2 separate regions of the Homo sapiens genome follow, and region 1 is linked to region 2. Evidence: promoter capture Hi-C in 16 types of primary human blood cells and fetal thymus (Javierre and others, 2016). All regions are on one chromosome and are shown on one strand. Each heading gives the region's core, a stretch centred on a gene start or on the middle of the fragment in contact. The rest is flanking DNA. Distances are from core to core; before and after follow the strand shown. Region 1 overlaps HHAT (hedgehog acyltransferase). Region 2 holds the start of RD3 (RD3 regulator of GUCY2D).

The links. Contacts are between HindIII fragments. The CHiCAGO score rates a contact against its expected background, and 5 or more counts as called.
Region 1: a contact is called between a fragment that was not itself captured here and the fragment with the promoter of RD3 in region 2, in 1 of 17 cell types (total B cells). The highest score is 5.2, in total B cells.

Annotation. Positions count from the first base shown.
Region 1 is chr1:210,397,235-210,401,862 of GRCh38, reverse strand. HHAT (hedgehog acyltransferase) reads right to left here. Exons shown (of 12, transcript NM_018194.6): 5 at 1,201-1,395. Among named protein-coding and RNA genes, the nearest start is that of HHAT, 71 kb to the right of the region's middle. The HindIII fragment of the contact is 1,090 bases long and covers 2,226-3,315 here.
Region 2 is chr1:211,490,243-211,495,092 of GRCh38, reverse strand. It overlaps RD3 (RD3 regulator of GUCY2D), which reads left to right and starts at 2,931. Exons shown (of 3, transcript NM_001164688.2): 1 at 2,931-3,325. The HindIII fragment of the contact is 10,925 bases long and covers 1-4,850 here.

The sequences.
Region 1 (4,628 bases), core at 1,521-4,020, 1.1 Mb after region 2:
TGATCAGAGAACACACAACAGAAATCAGAAAATGTAGTACAAGAAGAATTTGCTGATAGGTGCAATCGCCTCAGCAAGGCACAGGAAACTCAACTCAGAAGGCAGTCTGTCTGTCATCCACCAATTCTCTGGGTCAAGTCTGATGTGCACTCATAAAGTAAAAATGCACTGTTATTGTGACTGAGAAAAAAAATAAAGCTAAAAGGTAAGTGCCTATAAAATAAGATTTTACTAATGCAAACAAAAGCCCTAAAGAAGTGAGGTTTGAGCCCAGTGTCCTCCTCTATTAGCACCAACAATGGATAGGTGGTTGAGTCTGTCAAAATGCCTCTGGGTTTACAGAAATGAAAGCTTGGTCTGTGCCCTTCGGGGCTAAACACTTTGTTTTCACTACCTAAATTGAAAGAGCTTCCACTGGGTCACATGAGTAGATAATAAATATGTTCCTGGCCGGGCACAATGGCTTATACCTGTAATCCCAGCACTTTGGGGAGGCCAAGGTGGGCAGATCACATGAAGCCAGGAGTTTGAGGCCAGCCCGGCCAACATGGTGAAACCCCATCTCTACTAAAAATACAAAAATTAACTGGGTATGGTGGCAGGTACCTATATCCCACCCACTCGGTTGACTGAGGCACGAGAATCGCTTGAACCCAGGAGGCGGAGGTTGCAGTGAACCAAGATCGCACCACTGCACTTCAGCCCTGGGTGACAGAGCAAGACTCCGTCTCTACAAATGAATAAATAAATCTGTTCCATCAACTAGGAAGAAGAAAAAGACCTGACTTACCACCACAGGGCCATTGTGGCCATCAGATGAGTTGAGTGATGTGTGCATTCCCTATAAATTGTAGGGCACTCTCCAGATGTTTTTTAGTAAATCATCTGTTTGTTTCTTCTCTCTTTGTTCCTGACCCTCTGGCCCTGTGACATCTGGCACCCCACATGCCCACCTAAACTGGGAGAGATGGTACAGGGCCAGCCCTGGGCAATCTCACAGGGCTAAAACACAGCCAGGAATGATAGGATTGCAGAATGCACCACTAGGGTTCACTTGTAGCAACCCTGTACGGCCACTATGGGGAGCCCCATCACAGTTCTACAATCATCTCTTGTCTGAAAACCAAGGTGTCTACTGGGATCAAGGCAAAGCCAAAGGGGCCTTCTCTGGATTCCCAATGGTAACAGGAAAACACTTACCTTAACTTCTTCCACACCCTGCAGCCTCAGTGTGGAGAGGAGGAGGAGAGAACAGAGCCACGTCAGGAGCTGAGACCGGAACTGGGCCACGCAGAAAGAGATGGTGGTATGGAGCAAAACCATAGCCACACCAGGGGTCCCCAGCACACACCAGCAGGCCCACATCCCATAGAGCATGAGAATCCAGGGTCTGTGCTGCAAATGGTGGGGCCCATCCAGAGAGAGACAGGGAGGAAGAGGGGAGGGAGGAAAATAAACAGAAGTGAGCTCATGGAAGTGATATTGAAGGTTCTACATGTAAGAGGATCACGTTTAATTACCCAATAAAGAAACTCTTATCACTGCCCTGGGAATTTTGGTACAACACAGACAAACAAGATTCAGAGGGACTTTCCACATTAACCCCCAGAGTCCCATCAGCTCCACCCAGAAGCAAGTAACCACTCTCCTGCCTTCAACCAAAGCCACCCAGACCCCTGGGTCACACAACAATAAGATATTGGATTGACTTTTCAACAGACACAATGGAAGCCAGAAGACAGCTGGAAAAATGCCAACTGGACCACATCCCACATACAGCATCCTTCAGAAGTGAAGGTGAGAGAAAGTATTAGTACACATTTCTAGGAAGACCTATTAAGAAAACTGGGCCATCCAAACCACAAAAGACTTTCCAAAGTCTAAGCCAGAGATTTTAAATATGTAGGGTTTTTTTGCATTTTTGATTTTTTGCATATTGATTAGTCAAATTTATGTCATAGAAAAATTGCATCTTACCTGCTTTATGAGCTATTGAGGACTTTGCATAGTCTACCTGATTGATACATTTATTCCCATTTTAGGAGAATCACAGATTTTTATCTAATCATCAACTAATTTATAGTTATCACATTGAATAAGTAGATGAATTAACATGTCTTTGCTTTATGATATAACCTTGGTCAGACCTGATGGGGAAATCCTTAAAAACCACAATGTTTTAACTTTGAGACGCAAGGTATCATTGTGGTTTAATGATTCAAGCTTTGAAGTCTAACTGCCTAAATTCAAATGCTGGTGTCTCATAACTACCTGTGTGACCTGAGGCAAATGACTCCATCTCTGTGGATTCATTTCTTCATATATAAAACTGGGATATCCCAGCACTTTGGGAGGCCGAGGCAGGTGCATCACCTGAGGTCAGGAGTTCAAGACCAGCCTGACCAACATGGCAAAACCCCATCTCTACTAAAAATACAAAAATTAGCCAGGTATGGTAGGTGACTGTAATCCCAACTACCCGGGAGGCTGAGGCAGGAGAATCCCTGGAACTCGGGAGGCAGAGGTTGCTGTGAGCCGAGATCGCACCATTGCACTCCAGCCTGGGCAACAGAGCAAGACTCCATCTCAAAAACAAAACAAAACTGGAATAATAACAATATCTCCTTCATGGGGTGGATACACAGGAAGGACTCTACAAATACAGTTGTTATTCCCATAGGGAAATGTGATGTCTCACGGGCATGCATTTTAAAATGTGGATCCCAGGAACCACCGAATTGAAAAGTGATAAGTGCCTGAACTTAGGTCGTCTTGTGGAAACAAAGACTTTTTTCAGGGCAAGACAGGTGTGGAGTGTAAATTGCAAATCCCGTGCTTTGATGCTAACTCTTTCAAAATATTGCCTACCTACCATTCTTTCCCAAACCTATACTCTAGCTCAAGAGAACATTTTAAATATGAGACTAGATCAGCCATTTTTAAGTTCCAAGAAAACCAGAGAAATGTGAAGTTCATTTTTACTATTTTTCCATCCTACTACCCACAGAAAACAGCCACATAAATTTGCTTCAAACCCTCACCTCTGGGCAGAGTCCAATTATAAGGAATACATGGCCAAAGACTATTTTAAGAGGTAGTTTTAACAAATGAAAAAAAGGGGCTTCTTTTCCAACATGACCTACAGCATTTACCAATGGAATTCTTTTTTGTGCATGTGTGGCTACATACATAGACACAGTTATGTTTTTATTAAGTGCTATTTGATCCCTTTGGAAAAAGCCTGTTTGCTGGGATTCGTTTGGGAACTTACCACAGACTGAAGCTGCTTCAACTTGGAAAATGCTGAAAGAAGCTTCAGGAAATACTTGATAGTGCTGTGTAAACCCCATTTACTTGAGAGACTATGATGAATTTAACAGTGGTCTCCAAAGCCACCTTGGGGCAGAAAAATTTGTCCCATATTCATCCCCCACTGTTTCCCTACTGCCAAACAGTACAGGCAGACGACACTTAATACTGTTCTAAGACATCACAGGACACGCTCTCACATGAGCCTCATGTTCTCTACCCATCTTAATATTACCCATTGATTCTCCCCAAGTACAAGCAACTCTACTATATACATTCATGATGCACAGGCAATGAAAAGATGTGAATAATGCAAAAAGAATCACCTACACGAAACTGTTGTATATATTAGAATCCCACTAAAATGTTGATTTTCATACTTTGTCTATAAAAATGCTATTGGAATGAATCCTATCCCCAAAACACCATTAAAATACTGCAAGAGGAGAATCGCTTGAACCTGGGAGGCAGAGGTTACAGTGAGCCAAGATCGCGCCATTGCGCTCCAGCCTGGGAGACAAGAGTAAAATTCCATCTCAAAATAAGTAACAAACAAACAAGTAAATAAAATCCTGCTAGAGCAGAATCAGCCTCCCATGTCTTGCAATCCAACTGGCATCATGGCAGGGCAGTCCCCATTATAGAGGTAGCCCTTAGGGCACAGCTGCCCAACCACGATCCCTCCCATGCACATACCTAGATCTCAAGCACTATGAAGAGGGTTCTAGGATAAAAGGGTGACATGGCCCAGCAGGGTGGGCAGCAGCATGGACGGCCTGCTTCTTTGGGCAGCAGAAGAGCTTTTTCTAAGCATTTCAAAGGCCAGTTTCATCAGCAAAGGCCTAAAGATAGCCCTGTCCCATCCATCTCTACTCCAAATGTGCTTATGTATTTATCAACCTTTTTTCTCTCTTAAGTAAAAATGCTTAACTATCAGTATTAAGCTTCTGACATCAACCAGGCCAGAATTTTTTTAACTTTTCAAAAAAAAAAAAAATTGTGTTGCATTTTGTTCCAAAACAACACTTCTGACTCATCACTAGAAAGGCTTTCAGATTTTTTTCCCCAAGTTCTCAGGGTAATAAGAGCAGACATACAAGATTTGGTCACACACATACTGTACGTCAAACTCAAGTTTAAAAACCCACCTAAACACCAAAATAGCCCAATTCATTTAAATTACAAGGTTCAAATTATGAAGATGATTGGGAATTACTTGTTACTTGAAAGAAGACAAAGAATCACATTGATCACATAAAGTGTATAGGTAAAACATGGCCTCAATGTTGGATTGTGATGTTTCTGATTTACAGATTCCA
Region 2 (4,850 bases), core at 1,682-4,181:
TCTGAGTCCATTCAGGCTTCTATTACAGAATACCATAAACTGGTGACTTATAAATGACAGAAATTTATTTCTCACAGCTCTGGAGGCTGGGAAGTCCAAGATCAAGGTGCCAGTAGATTCAGTGTCTGCTGAAAGCCCACTTCCTAGTTGATGGAGGCATCTTCTCACAGTGTCCTCACGTGGTAGAAGGGCCAAAAAGCTCCCTGAGACCATTTCACAAGGGCAGTAATCTCATTCCTGAGGGCTCCCCTCTTACGACCTAATCACATCCGAAAGGTCCCACCTCCTAACCATCACCTTGGGAGATTCAAGATTGAATTTTGGGGAGGACACAACATTCAGTCCGTAGCACCTGGAGAGGAAATGTGACCACAGGAATAGAAAGAGGGATGCCCAGAGAGAAGAGGTCTAAGTAACTGCAAATCTGGTCTGTACCTATGAATATTCTGTCCATTTAATTCAACTTCTTTGGGATTAGGGCTACACAGACCTTCTGCAGGATTTGGAAAACCCAACGCATGACTGAGTGGTTAGAAATGGTTTGAAATAGCCTGGAAAGACTCCAGGGAGGAGAGAACGGAGCGCGCGCGTGCACACACACACACACACACACACACACACACGCAGAGCCGGGGCTTATCTCTAATCTCCATGCGGATTTTAATCCAGCCTTGCATGTAATCGCCTCATAACTCCACATTTCCAATTTATTAATCAAATGCCATCTATGAGGCAATGTTGCGGGCCCCACCGGTGTTTCTGCATTTGATGGTTGCTGAATATCTATGCTTCAGCAACTTCCATCCACGCCAAACAAGAGAAAAACAACCGCCACCTTTTCTCCCCAGAGCAAATTCACACTCAGCAAGGATAATCACAAATCCTCCACAGGTGAACAAATCAGAATAAATGAGGAGTCAACACACCCACCAAGGCCTGTGAGTTACGGTATCAAGGCAGCTGTCAGGGAGGGTCGTGGGTTAGGGAGTGCCTCCCTCTTCTAATCACAGGCACCATTTGAAAAATGCAGGAGAGGGGCCAGCTGCGTCTGCCAGGGAGACTGCTATAAGTCGTCTGTGTGCTTGTTCCCTGGCATCCCAGGGTCAGGAGTCCTGAAGCTCATCTGGCAGCTGCTGCGACAAAATCTTTCTGATGGCTCAAGACATTGGCCTCTATGATCTCATTTACATTCATTGTGTGTGCATTAGAAGGGGAGATATTAATACAAAAGCATGGCTATAGAAAAGGGATGAATTGTTTTTATTCAAACACAGAATGGTCAGTAGCAGACCCAAGGTTGTACTACTTGGAGATAAAAGTCTTTAACTCTGGGCCCTAATGCTGTCCCTGCTCCCCACCTGCCTGCCAGACTTCCACCTCCTCCTCATCTGATCCAGCAATCCAGCACACACAGGCTTGGCTGGGATGTGTGCAGAGAGGAGAGCCAGGCTCAGCCAGCTCCTAGCTTGGTGCCCCTGTAGAATGGTGCTTTAGAAATACGTGCTGCACAGATGAGCATGTGACTTAGTCCATGCCCTCCTCTCCTCATTGCCTCCAGCAACTTTCCTAAAGGGAAGGTAAAGTCTTGTCATCCCCCTGCTCCCTTCCCTACAGTGTGGAAATGCCTGGGAATTTCTGCCCTTGGACCTCCAAGCCACGCCCCTTGGGAAAGTGCCAGGATAGTGGTGGGGTGCTCAGAGGTGGGGACTCCCAGTTACCTGCTTTGGGTGACTCTGGCCTTAGCTGGCCCTGAGGTGGAGGCCGCCTGGGAACTGTGGGTCAGAGGAAGTCAGCTTCAGCTCCCTCAAATGTGGGGATCTTCCATCCCCAAGTGACCCACTCAATCTTTGGGGCTGTCGTGCTGTGAACTGGTCAAGAGAAGTATATGATCCAACTCCTGACTCAAGAATCTTGCCTGCTTGATGGATGAAGAGGGAAGGCGGATGGAACCAGCTGAGTGGAACCAGCCACAGAGCAAGCACGAAGTGACAAATCACCCAGGGACGAAATCATGCAGGCAGGCAGGTGGGCAACCTGAGTCCATTTCATCAGCCATTGTTTAATTTATTCTTGGTTGTACTTTCTGCTTTATTTCCAACACAATCAAAACCAGATGTGTGCAAAAGTCACGCTATCACCCAGCACAGGATTACCTAAGATCTATTATAATGCAGCTTCATGCCCATTACAGTATTCCCATGCCCCTCACAGGGCAGTGTGCATCTGTTTTAGTGCTACCTAATGTCTGTTAGGTGCAAGCTGGCCCACACATGGCTTCTAGGCAGAACAGTCTACAAGTGACAGCGTGACCAGAGAGCAGAGACAGGAAGGAGGCCCAGACATGAGTGTGGGATGCTGCAGAACAGCAACAGGATGCTTCTGCTATCCCCAAATGTTATCTCAAATACCTCAACGTCAATGCTTTCTGTTCCATGTTCCTCTTCTCCCTGGACAGCCCCTCCTTCTGAAAGTCAGAACTGTCTGCTCTTGAGCTTGCCTTGAGGGAAGGAAATAATTTAGATAAGCAGAGAGGAAGACAGGCAAGGGATGTGGTGGGGCAAAGGCGGAGATGTATCTTCACAGGTCCCTGTCCTCAGCACCCAGAATCACCCCTTCCCTGTAGGAGGGAGCTGATAGAAAGAGGGGATCTCCATCCAGGAGCCACCCACCAGGCAGCTGGAAACATTTGCCAACAGCAGGTACACCTAGGGCTCAGCAGAGGGTTGGGTGAGAATGGTCTTGCCCAGTTTGTGCCACACTGAGCACCGGCTGGAGGAGGAAGCGGACAGAATGCCATCTGGACACAAGTGCTCCCTCACTGCCTGGGCCTGGGTCGCCTCAGGCTTTTGTGTCAGATCAGCCACTCCCTCTACAGATAATGCTGCTCCAGGCAAAGAGGCTTAGGTGGGTCTCCAGGGCAACCGCAGCTCAGGAGCTGGCCCGCCTCCATGGTTCATCAGGGAAGCTGTGGCTCCAGCCTCGCGGGATACATACACGCATACACACACACACACACACACACACACACACACACACACACACACCTACACACCCCACAAACAATAGTCCAGGCTGGATCTCTCCTCCTGTCTCTTCTCTTGGTAAAACTTCTCAGAGAACCAAAGAGAGGCAAAATTTGAGGCCAGCCGGCAGCAGCAGAGAAGCTGAGGGAGACTTGAGGATGTAGACTGCCCTGCCCTGCTGTGGCTGCTCAACTTTCTTTTTTTTTCCTGAAAATATCCAGACACTCTCTTCTCCCAGACTGGGAAGCAGAACGCAGGCCCCCTGCTGTGACGCTGCACCTGAGCAGAGGCTGACCTCAGAGGTAAGATGGAGGTCTCCCCAGGAGACAGTGTCTTCCCCACCCGCACCCTGGCACAGCTGCACCTTTGGAAGTTAGGGCTGAGGCTTGAAGCTGGGTGGGGTGGCCTCAAGGGGTGTGGCAGGCTGGGGAGCCTAGAAAGCCGCCCACCTCCGGGACCCAGATGGCCACAGGAAGGCCCCTTTAGTCCTCATCAGTTCCACAGGAGTTGGAACCGATGAGGGTCCTGCAGCTTCCTCGGGGCTATAGCCTGCTCCTTGTTTTGTAAACCTGTGGGAAGCCATTGTTTTTGCCTGTTCTGGAACTGCAAGCCTCTCGGGGAGGACCCAGCTCCAGCAGGTTCCTTTCTGCCTTTATAGAGTGGACACAGGCAGGGGGAAGGAAAGCGAAACCCAAATCAGAGACTCTTGCATGGGTTTGCGAACTGTGATTCGAGCATCTACTAAGTCCAAGGCACAGAGTCAGGCTCTGGGGATGCAGCAGCACCCAGGGCACGAGGGTGATGGATGTGCCTCAGTCCCCTCGAACATGGAGCAGTCTGTGCATCCCTGATAACATGCCCAGGAGAGTGGGCCCAGGCAGATGGGTGCAGGGTGGGGCGCCAGGGAGATCGGGCCTAGAAGGAAAGTCCAGCTGCGACCAAGGGATGAGGGTCAGTCCCCTCCCACTGTGGTCAGTCAGACCTGTGTACACGCCCTCTCCTGGCTGCACCTCTGCCTCAGAATGGGAAGGACTGGCTGCCATTCACTCATTCATTCAGGAACCGCTTATCAAGTGCTACCATGTGCAGCAGATTCAACCCACATTCCTCTCGCCCTTGCAGAATTCATAGCTAGGTGGGGAAGAGATAAATACAACCCAAAGCGTGAGAAACGTGTTTGCTAGATGCCATGGTGATGGGCCCTTGTGTCAGGCCCTGGTGGCTGGGATCAGTGCTCCATGGGTGGGGGGAAGTGAGGGGCCGGCTGCAGGGAGGAGTTGTCTCTTGAGGGGTTCCCGACAAATGAGCAGATGTCTGTCAGGTGGGCAGAGGATCCACAGGTCAGGCCCGCTCATATCTGGCTTGGTGGATTATAGGTTGTTTTTCTGTGATGCCAAAGAGAAATAAGGTCAATTTGCAATCTGTAAAGTTGGACTTGGGCCTTATCAAACACAGAGCTGGGAGGCAGATTAGCCAGAGAAGCACCTACTCTCTGCCCCCACTGAGAAGTCTCTGCCCAGACTGAGCGTCTGGCGTCAGCAGAGCCAGCCTGCCCCTGCAGTGAAGCTGCCAGTGCTCTGGGACAGCCTGACTCAGGTGCTGCTCTATGCCTGGGTCCGGCGGGTCACACAGGGCAGCCCCTCACCCTGGCCTGCAGATGCCTAGCTCAGCTTCAGAGGTGGAGGACCCGGGCCGGGTTCCCTGGCCATGGCTCCCTTTGCACTGAGAAATTGGCCTTCCTGGGCAAGGTCTGCACGCCCTCACTGTTTGGCTGGGGCCGGCGCAGGGCCTCAGTTCTCACTAGAGGTGAGGGCACTCTCATCCCTC